Linked DNA regions of Homo sapiens: all the other regions are linked to region 2. Evidence: promoter capture Hi-C in 16 types of primary human blood cells and fetal thymus (Javierre and others, 2016). All regions are on one chromosome and are shown on one strand. The core of a region is centred on a gene start or on the middle of the fragment in contact, and the rest is flanking DNA. Distances in the headings are between cores, read along the strand shown.

Evidence for each region. Contacts are between HindIII fragments. The CHiCAGO score rates a contact against its expected background, and 5 or more counts as called.
Region 1: the fragment with the promoter of PLEKHB1 here is called in contact with the fragment with the promoter of RELT in region 2 in 1 of 17 cell types (M0 macrophages); the score reaches 6.0 in M0 macrophages.
Region 3: a fragment that was not itself captured here is called in contact with the fragment with the promoter of RELT in region 2 in 6 of 17 cell types (M1 macrophages, M0 macrophages, megakaryocytes and 3 more); the score reaches 9.8 in M1 macrophages.

The regions. Positions count from the first base shown.
Region 1 is chr11:73,643,576-73,647,830 of GRCh38, forward strand. It overlaps PLEKHB1 (pleckstrin homology domain containing B1), which reads left to right and starts at 3,006. Exons shown (of 8, transcript NM_021200.3): 1 at 3,006-3,051. The coding sequence starts at 3,034. RefSeq lists enhancers at 2,571-3,489, 4,125-4,255 and a silencer at 3,865-4,084. The HindIII fragment of the contact is 13,421 bases long and covers 1-4,255 here.
Region 2 is chr11:73,373,209-73,377,702 of GRCh38, forward strand. RELT (RELT TNF receptor) reads left to right here and starts at 3,191. Exons shown (of 11, transcript NM_152222.2): 1 at 3,191-3,291. RefSeq lists silencers at 2,911-3,220, 3,251-3,540, 3,631-3,710 and an enhancer at 3,876-4,170. The HindIII fragment of the contact is 14,706 bases long and covers 1-4,494 here.
Region 3 is chr11:73,662,568-73,666,724 of GRCh38, forward strand. It overlaps PLEKHB1 (pleckstrin homology domain containing B1), which reads left to right. Exons shown (of 8, transcript NM_021200.3): 8 at 1-252. Among named protein-coding and RNA genes, the nearest start is that of PLEKHB1, 18 kb to the left of the region's middle. The HindIII fragment of the contact is 1,069 bases long and covers 1,281-2,349 here.

The sequences.
Region 1 (4,255 bases), core at 1,756-4,255, 270 kb after region 2:
GTGTGAGCCAACTGCGCCTGGCCCATGATTCCATTTATATGAAATGGCCAGAATAGGCAAATCTGTACAGAAAGAAAGCAGATTAATTTTGCCAGGGACTTGGGGGGAAGACAGATTGGGAGTAACTGCTAAAGACTATAGGGTTTCTTTTCTTTTCTTTTTTTTTTTTTTTTTGAGATGGAGACTCGCTCTGTAGCCAGGCTGGAGTGCAATGGTGTGATCTCGGCTCACTGTAACCTCTGCTTCTCGGGTTCAAGTGATTCTCCTGCCTCAGCCTCCTGAGTAGCTGGGATTACAGGTGCGCGCCACCACGCCCAGCTAATTTTTGCATTTTTAGTAGAGACAGGGTCTCACCATGTTGGACAGGCTGGTCTCGAACTCCTGACCTCAGGTGATCCGCCACCCTTGGCCTCCCAAAGTGCTGGAATTACAGGCGTGAACTACCATGTCTGGCCTAGGGTTTCTTTTTAGGGTGATAAAAATGTTCTGAAGGCCAGGTGCGGTGGCTCACACCTGTAATCCCAGCACTTTGGGAGGCCGAGGCGGGCAGATCACGAGCTCAAGAGATCGAGACCATCCTGGCCAACATGGTGAAACTCCATCTCTAAAAATACAAAAATTAGCTGGGCATGGTGGTGCACGCTTGTAGTCCTAGCTACTCGGGAGGCTGAGGCAGGAGAATCACTTGAACCTGTGAGGCGGAGGTTGCAGTGAGCCGAGATCACACCACTGCACTCCAGCCTGGTGACAGGGCAAGACTCCATCAAAAAAAAAAAAAAAAATACCCACTGAATTTTTTACTTTAAAAGGGTGAATTTTATGGTAGGTGAATTACATCTCACTAAAATTATCACTTTGGCCGGGCGCAGTGGCTCACGCCTGTAATCCCGCTCTCAGGGAGGCAAGAGGCGGGAGGATAGCTTGAGCCCAGGAGTTCGAGACCTGCCTGGGCAATATGGCGAGACCCCGTTCTCCAGAAAAAGGAAAAAAAAAAAAAGACAAAAAAAAGCGTAAAATTATCACTTTAAAGTGTTTTCTTTTCTTTTTTTTTTTTTTTTTTTTTGAGACGGAGTTTAGCTCTTGTTGTCCAGGTTGGAGTGCAGTGGTGAAATCTCGGCTCACCACAATCTCTGCCTCCCGGTTCAAGCAATTCTCCCGCCTCAGCCTCCCTAGTAGCTGGGATTACAGGCATGTGCCACCACACCCAGCTAATTTTGTATTTTTAGTAGAGATGGGGTTTCTCCATATTGGTCAGGCTGGTCTCGAACTCCCGATCTCAGGTGATCTGCCCGCCTTGGCCTCCCAAAGTGCTGGGATTACAGGCATGAGCCACAGCGCCCGGCCATTTAAAATGTTTTCATAAGCACTTTTACTTTTGCTCAAATTGCATCTTGATATAAACTTCAAGTTTTTTAAAATAAAGATAATATAAATTATTCTCATTATATTATACTCTCTAGAAAATGTAAGTAGTAAATTTGAATTTGATGAGCCAGTCCACTATTTCCTAAACAATGTATTATCTGTGGGCTGTTCATTCACCAGGGACACTTGAAATGGCAAAATCTTTTCCTCTCTGCCAATGGTTCTGTGCACCATAGCCACAAAGAAATGTAAAAGTTACTTGTTGGCTTATTAGTCTCAATAAGTTTTAGTTGATTGAACAAACAAAGTCTCTCACAGCCAGGACTGCTGCGGCTGGAATTCCTGACATACTGTCATACCTCTCACTCGTCAATCTACACTCTCCTCCCATCTACACAGCTCTGGAAATTAAAAACAATCCAACCATGACTATCATGGCTTCAGAGGTCTATGAACTCCCAGGAATTATACGCAGATTTTTTCCTGAGGACAGTCTACACTTCCTTATTGGCTTCTCAAAGAGGGTCACTGACCAGCTTTTAGAGACATGGGCCAAGTCCGGCTACGTTTAGATTCGGTAGTAGTGTCTGTGGTTTTAGTTTGCCACGTCCTTTCCTCTTTTTTTCGTCATAGTGCCCGCTCTTTGGGAGGTAGGGGAGAGTCTTCCCCTGAAGTCTCCACTGCTGCTGGAGAACCTTCCTTTTTCATCTGGTTGCTAAATCCAGAGAATGAAATCTAGGAGATGATTGCACCGTCCCCGCCCCTCAACATGAAGGATGCCCCACTGCCCATCGGGGAGGGGAGCAGGGAGAGCTGGAGAGAGGCTGGGTCGGGGCAGGACCCAGGCGCAGATCCTCCGAGGCCAGCTGCAGCCCTACCTACCTGCCTTCCCGTCTTTCCCCTCCCTTCTTTTCTCCTTCTGTCTTTCCTTCCTTCCATATCTCTTTCCTTGCCTCTTTCCCCCTCCCACTGCTTCCTTTCTTCCTTCCACTGTGGAGGTGGAAAATTTAGCTAGGAGAAGCTGGGACTGGGACGTTCCAGGAACCAGACAGAGAGTGAGTTAAAGGCACAGAGATGAAAACGCGGTATGGGAGAGCTGGTTCTTGAGTCGGCTAAGAGGGGATGAACTCAATGGTTAATAGGATTGGCCATGGCGAATCCCTCAGCAGGGCACGCACCGCACAAAGGGCCGAGGAGCGAGGGTAGCTCGAGGTCAGGATTACAGAGACTCAGGAGCAAGAGAGGAAGGCTTAAAGAGCCAGACTGCGCAGCCAGGACTGGGGTGATGGGCGCTGTCCTGCCAGGCCAAAGAATGAAGATGTAGCCCCGCCCCCAACCTAGGGAGGAGGACCAGCCCGGTTCCTGTCCTGCCCCCGCAACCTCGCCCCGATTCCACTCCGGGAACCTCGGCGATGCTGAGCCAAGACCACTTCTGAATCAGGGATGACTTGTCTAGTGAACCTAGGGTCAGAGCCATCAGTTGGAAAGGCTGGGAGGAGCCTGGAGAAAGAGGGCGACCTTCCTTGGGATCTGTGCGCTCCCTCCTTGCCTCCCCCTCCAGCCTCCCACTTGGTAGCACCTTCCTGATCCCCTTATCTCTAAGGCGCTCAGGGAAATGCCCCGCTGCGGGAGCCTTCTGGGAAATGCTGCCCTGGCCACCCAGGAACCATGAGCCCTGCAGCCCCGGTAAGGAAGAGTTCTCTGGGACAGGAGGAAGGGCCCAGGGCAGGGTGGGCACCCTTGCCACATAGGGGACGGGACAGAAGTCTTTTAGGCCCTGACATCCTCTGGTCTCTGAATGACATCCTGTGGCTGCTGGTAGGTGAGGGTTTGCGGGGCTGAGCTATTGAAGGAAATGATCACAGTCCGAGGTGATAGATACAGAAAGTCTTCCTTTCTCCAGGTGGGCTCCCGCCAGTCCATTCTTCACTGTGCCCTAGAGGGGCCTTTCCGACCCCCTAATCACACACCTCACTCCTCATCTTGAAACTCCCACCCCCAGCTCCAGTCACTGCGTCCTAACATCCAAGCTCTCCGCCTGTCATGCAAGGCCTCTGTGCTATTTCTTTCCAAACCCTGCAGCTCTATCGCCTGACACTCCCGATGCCCTCCCCACCCCTGCGCTTTATGTTCTAGACACACGGAAATGCTGGGCACTCTTCAACATCCTGACAGTATTCATAGGGGAAATTTCGGGTCGCCTAGGAAACTGCCCCTCATCCTCCAAGGCCCCTTTCAGCCTCCTCTGGGAAGCCTTCCTGAACCCCTTGAGAAAAGTCAGGCTCATCTTTTCCATTGTTAAATCACACCTTGTGCTCCAATTGTGTGTTTCCATGTAATCTCCCTCACTAGACTGGAAGCTGGGGATGGAAAGGGGAAGCATCAAAAAAACATGCAAAACTAGGAGCTTGGCTTCTCCTTGCAACTTTACTTTTTCTTTTTTTCTAGGAACTGAGTTCAATGATTCTTAAGAAAAAGTATTTCATGATAAATGAGTGAACAAATGTCTTAATAGAAAAGTAAAATTGCAGGCGGGGCTGCTTCTGCCCAGCTCTACAGGGGTAGACTACAAGTCCCAGTACGCCTCGGGTCAGCATCTCTTCACGTCACTCCCCCTCCCTGGGGTGGGCAGGTCCGGAGGGCGGGGCCCGGGGGCAGCTGGGCTCTCAGGCGCTGCGGGAGGAGAGAAATGCCCCAGGCTCTCCGGGGCACACAAAGCGCAGGCGCAGCGGGTTGGGTGGCAGCAGCATCGAGTAGCGGCCGCTTAGGCAGCAACATCCGCAACAAGTGTAGACAAGGTGGGTGCATCAAGGGGAGGGGCTGGAAAAGGAGTCTGCACCTGACCCTCTTGTCTGATCTGTGTCAAGACCGTGGAGAGGGGAGGGAGCGG
Region 2 (4,494 bases), core at 1,941-4,440:
GGGAGCCAGTGAGGCAGTCACCAAAGACTTGACACCTCCACCCCAGTGGGATTCCAGACCCAGGCCAGGGTCTGGACCTAAATGCAGGTTGAACCTGGTCCTCAGACCCAGACAGCCCCAGCTCAGCTTCTGGCCTGGCCCCAGGCTGAGCCCTATCCTGGCCTCCTAGCCTCAGTTTCCCCTCAGACTGAGCCCACCCTCCCCTGGAGCTAAGACACAAACACAGGACAGCAGCCCACCTTCTTAGGGTTAGGACTTGGCCCGCTGGGGGTTAGCCTAGGATGGAGCATTGAATTTTATTTTTTTTTTTTTGAGACGCAGTCTCGCTCTGTAGCCCAGACTGGAGTGCGATGGCACAATCTTGGCTCACTGCAACCTCCACCTCCCGGGTTCAAGCAGTTCTCCTGCCTCAGCCTCCCAAATAGGTAGGATTATAGGCGCCCACCACCGCACCTGGCTAATTTTTTTTTCTTTGTATTTTTAGTAGAGATGGGGTTTCACCATGTTGGCCAGGCTGGTTTACAACTCCTGACCTCAGGTGATCCGCCCACCTCGGCCTCTCAAAGTGCTGGGATTACAGGCGTGAGCCACCGCGCCTGGCCTGGAGCATTGAAATTTAAGTATGAGCCTGCTGTTCCTCCAGGCTTGTACTGTATGTACTTCCTTTTGGAATTCTAGCACAGCCAGCAAGCAGAGTGGCACCCACTACCTTTGGTCCATGACTCCAAGGCAGTCATCTACTCAGACCCCTGCATACAGCCACACTGTGGTGGCTCTGATTCTGTGACCCAGGATCCCCACCCCAGGCAGGGCCTGGCTGGGGCATGGCACCTGTACCCCTGCCTCCAGGTCCCCATCACAGCTCGTCCCAGTTTACTGGGACCTTGTGCTGTGTACCTACAATGAGGTGCACACATTCTCTGGGCCCACTTGCCCAGCTGTACCATGTGAAGTTCAACAAGATGGTCTCTGAGGTCCCTGAGCTCAGGGATTCCAGTGCTGACTCCATGGGTTCAGTTGAGATGCCAGGATTTTATAAAGCCTGTGATTCTGAGAGTCCTTTGTTCTCAAGCCTGTGGTTCCCCAAGCTCCATAAAAAGCGAGTCTAAATCTTTCCTGTGGCTTCCACAACTCCTTCCCTGTCTACTCACTGTGGAGCAACCCAGATGCTGGTAGACTCTCAGGGAGGAGCCCACGTCACAGTGGTTTCAGGGTCAGAGCTGGCTGCAGGAGGAGCTGGCGCATCCACCCAGCAGTAAATAATAATTAGGCTCCCTCCTAACCTGGGGGTTGCAGGAGCGAGAAGTGTTTGGGCTGTGGCCCCAGGAGACCTACTCTATGGAGCTGCTGCCAGGGCAGCCAGGTAGCCGCCTCCCACAGAGAACTTCAGGCAACATGTCTGGCACCCCAGTTTTCAGATGAGGAAACTGAGTTGGGGGTGGATTTGATGAAAACCTCACAGAGAGCTGGTGGTAGAGAGGGGCCTGGACCCTCTCTGGGATGTCTGATTAATAGCCAGTGCTCCAAAAAGCATTTCCCCATTTAGTTTATTGATTGAGACAAGGTCTCACTCTCTCACCTAGGCTGGAGTGCAGTGGCACGATCGCGGCTCACTGCAGTCTCAACTTCCTGGGCTCAAGTGATTCTCCCACATATTTTTGTAGAGACTGGGCTTCATCATGTTGCCCAGGCTGGTCTCGAACTCCTGGGCTAAGTGATCCTCCCAACTCAGCCTCCCAAGGTGCTAGGATTACAGGTGTGACCACTACACCTGGCCTTCCCCATTTGGTTTATTGAGTGACGACACCTGAAATTGCCACCATTTGAACTCTAGAACCTAGAGCTGGGGTGTAGATGGTCCCCTTACAAAGAAAACATTTCCAGGAGTGGAGGCATTCTGGATGCTCTGGCCTTCCGTAGGCTGGGATGTGGGACCCTGGAAGAACCCCTGCCCCAGCCCTGGAGGTCTCCATTGACATATGAGGGTGCTGATGTCATGATCCTGACATCAATGACCTGTAGCTCCTTATGCCCTTCCCCCACAACCTGAGCATGACCCAGGGAAATGAAAACTCATCCCCTGCTCCCCTCCCCATGCGGTGTCCAGTTCGCCTCCTGGAATCTCCTGGACCCTGGGGACCTGACCTTTTCCGTCTCCTAGCCCCTGGGTTCAGATTCTATGACTGTTTAGAACCCCACCCCCAGCCATCTATCCCCAGCTGACTTATTTACCTTCCTTTCTCCATCTCTGTCATGGGCTGTGATTATCCTGACCCCAGCCAGGCCTCTGGCCCAGCACTAGGTCCTCCCTGGTGTCTCAGTCTCCCATCAGCCCTACTGTCCCAGGAGGACCGCCTGAGATCCCCTGAATAGTACTGAGAGGGGGAACGGGCCACTGAGCTGCTCCCTCCAGTCCTGGCACACCCTGTAGCACAACTCCAGGGGACACGATTCGGAGTCGGAATACAGTGTGAATACTGCCTGGAGTTTGTGATGACTGGCATTGGAAACTGGCAGGGTGGGATGGCTGTAGTAGGGAGGGGGGCACTGAGTCACCTGTCCTGCTGGAGGGAAACTAACTACCCTGGCACAGAGAAGTGGTGCGGGGAGTAGGGGAGTGGAGGCAGGAGACGCCTCCTGGAGGATTTCACTAGGCCTTGAAGGATGTGCCGAAGCCCACCGTGTGGGCTTCCTTTATAGACTCACCTTCACCAGGCCTTTTCGCCAACTAGGTGAGGGTTTCCAGGGTTGGGCCTGGGCCTCGTCAACAAAGCAAAGTGAGGTTATTCTTCCTGGCCACCAACTGGCAGGAGGAAGATGAAGCCCAGAAAGGGGCAGAGGTGGCTCTAGTTACACTGGCAATGCTGAGAGGACCCAGAGGAGTATCTCAGTCTCCAGTCTCTTTATCTTGCTTCGCACAACTCCTTGCTTGGTTCAGAGCCTTGAAGAGGCGGATACAAGAGGCCCTCTGGGCACCGCCGCCCAGTCCCGCGCAGCCCCCTGCAGTTCCCAGGGGCGCGAGAGAGGGCGACGTAGAGCAGCACCGCCCAGCGGCAGAGCGGCGAGCCCCTCCGCGGCTCGGGGTGAGTCGGGCGCGGGGCGCAGACCGCGCTCTGACGTCGGGGGCGGAGCGGCCGTGACGCGCGGGGGCGGGTCTGCGCACCTTCCCGGCCCAGCCGGCGATTCATTCAAAAGGCGCGCAGGCTGCGCGGCTGTCCGGGCGCTCGCCGAGCCGGGCCGCGGCGCCGAGTCGAACGGGGAGCCGAGCTGGAGCTGCCGCGGCGCAGCCAGGTAAGGAGGGCGCGCGGAGCGCCCATCCAGAGTCTGCTCTCCGCGGCCGGGCCAGCGGGATACGGACCCTAGTGGCGCCCCCTGCCTCCCCGTGTCTCTGAGGAAGTTCGCGGGCTCGGCGGATGCGGCAGCCCGGCCGCGCGCCCCCCCACCCCACTCCTCCCGCCTCGCGTCCTGTCCCGGCGCCTTCCGCGCACCGGCCACCGCCAGTCTCCGAGCCCCGTGACCTGCAGGTCCTCCGGCCGCGACTCCGGGCCGGCCCTGCGTGGTGGCTGTCGGGGGGCGCGCGGGGAAGCAGCGGAACTTGCGGTGTGAGGGGCCGGCGGGGCCCGGAGCGGTCCCCGGCCCGGGAAACTTGGACCGAGACCAGGTTGTGGTGCGGGCTGGACGGCGGCGCCTCGGCGCGGCTGCGGCGCGGGGCGGCCAAGGGGGGGTCTGGATGGTGTCAGCCCGTGACTGTGGGTGACACGGCGCGTGAGGCGGCCTGGCCGGGCGAACGTGTGGCTGGGACACTGGGCGGTGACGCCGGGCCGAGCGGGCGACACAGAGGGGCTCTGTGTGTGGGAGACAGGCAGCGTGTGTGCGTGTGTTGTGTGAGGGAAAGACCCGGGGTCACTGGGGTCACGAAGTGCGTGGCTTGGGGCGTGACCGGCGCAGGGCCAGGGCCACCCGTTACTGTGAGTGTGAAATAGAGGGAGAGGAGCCCAAGTGACTGAGAACGAGCCGAGCTCGCTGGCGCCATGGTGTGCGTGTGGGGTCAAGTGGTGTCAGTGTGTGTGTGTGTGTGTGTGTGTCTGCGCCTAGGGTGATGATGAGTAAGAGGCAGGAGGAGGAGGGACCGGACCTAGGACACCTTCCGGCAGATGTGGGGCGATGAGGAAGTTGGGGAGCCAGGAGACAAGGGTCTCCAGGACTGTCCCCACGAGGGCACCCCTCAGGAGTTCAGCTTGGTGAGGAGATGGACCCTGAGGGATAGGCCCTGGCTGAGGGAGAAAGCCGAGGCTGGGCAACATCTGGTGGGGTGGCCCAGATGGCAGCAGGGTAGGGGCCCTGTGGTAGTCTCAGCTTCCCCCCGCCCACCTGCATCCACACACTCACGCATCGAAGTCCCTACACCTGGCAAAGTTCTGCCCCTGTGTAATCTGTATTCTCAGCGGACCCGGACACAATCTTGTTCTCAGACCCCCCCGCCCCCCTCCCCCG
Region 3 (4,157 bases), core at 565-3,064, 290 kb after region 2:
TGTTCTCCTCTGGGGCCTGATCCACCTCTACACCAGCCCAGGAAGCCCCATCTGTGCCTGCCCTCAGGTGGTCCACCAGTCTCCCCCTTTGGTTCCCTTCCAGTCTCTTCCCCCTTTCTATCCCAATCACCAATAGAAATGCTAACATCCCTGCCTGGTAGCCAGACTAGCCCACTAAAGCTCCCCTGTAAATGGGGGCTCCATTAGTTCTGCTGCCGAGACTAATAAAGATTTGGTTGGCTCTAGCAGTAACTGTGGCTTGCTTTGTTCCCCCAGAAGGCCCTGTTTCCCTCTCCATGATCCAGCAGCTACTAGTGCCTTCACTGGTCTAGTGAAAAAGAGTGTGGATTCTGAGATCAGTTGGAACTGGTGACAGCATATTAGCTGAGTCATTTGGGGCAAGTCACTTAACCTTTCTGGATTTTGTTTTCCCTACACTTAAGGTAGCTGGTTGAAGTTGACCATTCCTGAGGGCTCAAGAGGAGGGACTGCCTTGGAGTCTCTGTTGTCTGAGCTGATGGATGATCCAAGCCAGGTCCTGCCTGCTTTCTGAGAATCCTGTTCATGTTGGAGTCTTTTCCAGTAGGTTCCCATCCTTCTAGAGTTGAATCAATGAATTGTTCTCATAGAAAACCAGGTGGTCAGGAAAGGAAACACCATCATCCTGCATCAGGCTTCTTGGGGCTGTCAGATAGAAACTCCCTGTTCAAACTGATTTAAGCCAAAGGGAAAAGGTTAAGCCACATAACTGAGAAGTCCAAGAGCTGTGTGATCCAGGGGCTCAAAGAGTGTCACTTAGACTTTGCTTTGTTTCCATCTTTACACCTGCAGGGCTGGCTCATTTGGAAGCTGCAGTGATGTTCAGCAGCTCCAGGCTAATGCCCTCCTGAGTTCAAGTCCAACCAAGAGAATTTCTCTTCCTCTAACAGTATGACTGAAAGTCCTGGGCCTGGTAGACATCAGTCTAAATTGGGTCCTGTGGCCATCCCTGCATCAACCCCAGTGGTCTGGAAACGGATGGTCTAAAATAACAGGGCTTACAGCAGGGGTGGGATGGTGTCCCAGAGGAAATTCAGGGCACTGTTCCCAGAAGTAGGATGAATAGATGAAAGCTGGTTGGCAAAAATATCAGGTATTCACCTCAGCCACAGTTCCAGAGACACCAACTTAGAGGTGAGACATGTATAAAAACAGCAATGATTGAATGAAGTTACAGAGGAACGTGGTGCAGTTGGAGCTCTGAAGAGGAGGCATGCAACTCTGCCAAGGGAACTAGGGAAAGCTTTGGGACAGGAAGTGGAAATTTATTTTGAACCTTGAAAAATGAGTAGGAGTTTGCCAATCTGAAAAAGTTGGGAGAGCTTTCCACACAGAGAACAGATGGAAGAAATGGTATGAGCAAAGGCATTAGAGGCTTGAGAGCACCCTGAAGTTCAGGAACCAGTCTCATGCTATAGCAGGTCGCATGGTGAGAGGTGGTGGATGAGGTCAAACTATAAGGAACCTCTTGGGCCAGGCTACTGAACACAGGGCATAGTCCAGTATGTGGCCCCGGCTTAAGGACAAGCATGGATGCAAGAGGAGCCTCTTGAGAAAACCAAGGTCTGTTAGCATTTGTGCAGTCAGAGGTTACATACCCTGGGTATCCTAAGGCCTGTACTGTGTTCAGGGGACCCAGCAGTGCATCAGACCCAGTCCATGCTTTGGAACTTCAGCCTTAATTTTTTCTTTTGTTTTGCTCCCCTCCTTTCTCCTCCTCACAGCCTTAATTTTTTCTATTTTTGTCTTTCCTCCTCCCCTCCCCTCCCTTCCCCTCCCTTCCCCCTCCCTTCCCTTCCCTTCCCCTCCCCCCCTCCCCCTCCCTTCCCCTTCCATTTCCTTCCCTTCCCCTCCCCCACTCCCCCCTCCCCCTCCCCTTCCCCTTCCCTTTCCTTTCCTTCCCTTCCTTTGCAGCAGTGAGAAGTGGGGAGAGAGAACAGAGTTTGATCTGTAACTGACTATGAACAGTCAATTGAGATAACTCACTACCTTCAGCCCAGCCTCAGCCTTAATTTTCTCCCAGATGGACCCAGTTACCCTGTCAGTCCTTTAGTGGCATCCCCATTACGCCATCTCATTAGAGGGTGTCCTGCATGCTCCTGCAGGGACATCTCTGAGTTTGGCTCTGGGAATGACCTTTCCTCTTACTCTCCGGCACAGTCTCAGGACTTTTAGAGATCAATATGTAGGAAGAGCCCAAGCTATCTAGAGTCCTTTCCCAAGAATGTGGGTTAAACAAGGATCAGGGAGCTGGCTGGGCAGGGCATTTGAGATCAGACAGAGCTGGGGACATTGCCATTCATTGCCCAAAGCTTCCCCTGCTTTATCTCATAGGTCTTTGCAACAACCCCATGGGCCTGGTGTTACTATTCTTATTTTACCTACAAAGAAACAGATGCAGAGAAGGAAAGTAGATTGTCCAAGTCATGCATGCTGTGTCAGAATCTGGATTCAAATGCAGGTCACTTGACCTTGTCTACCACACCACACTGCTTCTGCACTATAAATCCTGTGTGGCTCATTACCTGGCAGGAAAGTAATTCCCAGAGAGGAGGTCAACTGTATAACACAAATATCTCTTCTCTTTTCCTTTAGCAAATGCTTTCCTGAGAAGTTTTGTTGGCAGACAGGGCTGAGAGCTGGGTACTGGAAGATGAATGAGATTTGGGCCCTACATTCAAGGAGTTTGTGCATGTGCGTGCGTGCGTGTGTGTGTGTCTGTCTGTCTATCCCAGACATGGGCACAGACTATGACAACATGGGCTGTGGGAACTGGTAGCCCTGAGGCTGTAGGGTCACAGAGAAAGCAGCCCTTAACTCAGGTATGGGTGGAAGTGTCTTAAGCTAGATGTAAAGACAAATGCTCTTCCAACTATCGTCTTGTGGGAGTTGCTAACTTAGATGAAGAGGAAACAAGAACTAAAGCAGCACTCAGTGCCGAGAGTTCTCTGGGTGAGGCTGGATCTGCAGTGTGATGGGTGGAAACGGGGGTCAGCAAGGTCAAACCGTCAGGGGCCTTGGATGCCAGGGAAGGAGCTTGAACTATATACTAACTTCCAGGCCATGGAATGCCTCCAAAAAATTTGAAGCAAAGGAAGGACATGGTTGAACCTGGAAGTTCGATCTCACACACACAAAAACAGACATTCATTCTCATAGACAACATGGTCTCAACCCAGACAAAACCATCTCTGCAAACTGTCTGAGCAGCCCAGGTACTGCCTGGCCACTCATAGCCAGCTCACTGGGGGTGCTCAACTCCACATCCATTCCTGAGACCACCTGCCTCCATCAGCCCCTACTAGAGGAGATTCTGTAGATAGCAAGGGTCTGTGGCACTCTGAGCATCCTGGCAGTGAGCACTTCTCCAAAATCAGGTATATGACTCAGTCTCAGAACTAGAGCCCTACATTCAGAATACCTGGCTGGATATGACCCTCGATGCCCTCTAAAATGGATTTGTCTCCCCTTTGCCCCACCTGAAAGGGACCATGCTACTGCTTTCTGCCACCCATAGGGACTGGGAGTACTCTTACCCTTTCCCTTTCCTGCCCTTGTGGGATAGCTCAGTCTGTGAGACCTCCTTCCTCAGGAGTTGAGATCTACCTCCTGAGAACTCCCAGGGTTGGGTCCCAGATTTACTTCTGACCTCAGATCAGTGTTCCCCAACCTTAGAATTTCCCACAGAGGTTTGCAGATATCTTAAGTGGTCATCAGGAGACTTCATTGTCAGAATCATGGTCCAATCAGTCTATCACCCTTAAACCTGAAGCACAGAACCCTGAGGTTTGACCCTTTCTAGGTTGGTCACAAGCCTTGGGGATGGAGAGGGGTAACAAGCTAAGGCCAGGATATGCTTAGGCAGGAACATATACTGAATATAGAAAGAGTTCCAACTACAAAGCAGATGTCAGCCTCTGTCCTCTCAGATTGTCACCATCTGGCTGGGTGTGGTGGCTCACGTCTGTAATCCCAGCACTTTGGGAGGCTGAGGCAGGTGGATCACTTGAGGTCAGGAGTTCAAGACCAGCTTGGCCAACCTGGTGAAACGCTGTCTCTACTAAAAATACAAAAATTAGCCGGGTGTGGTGGCAGGCACCTGTAATCCCAGCTACTGA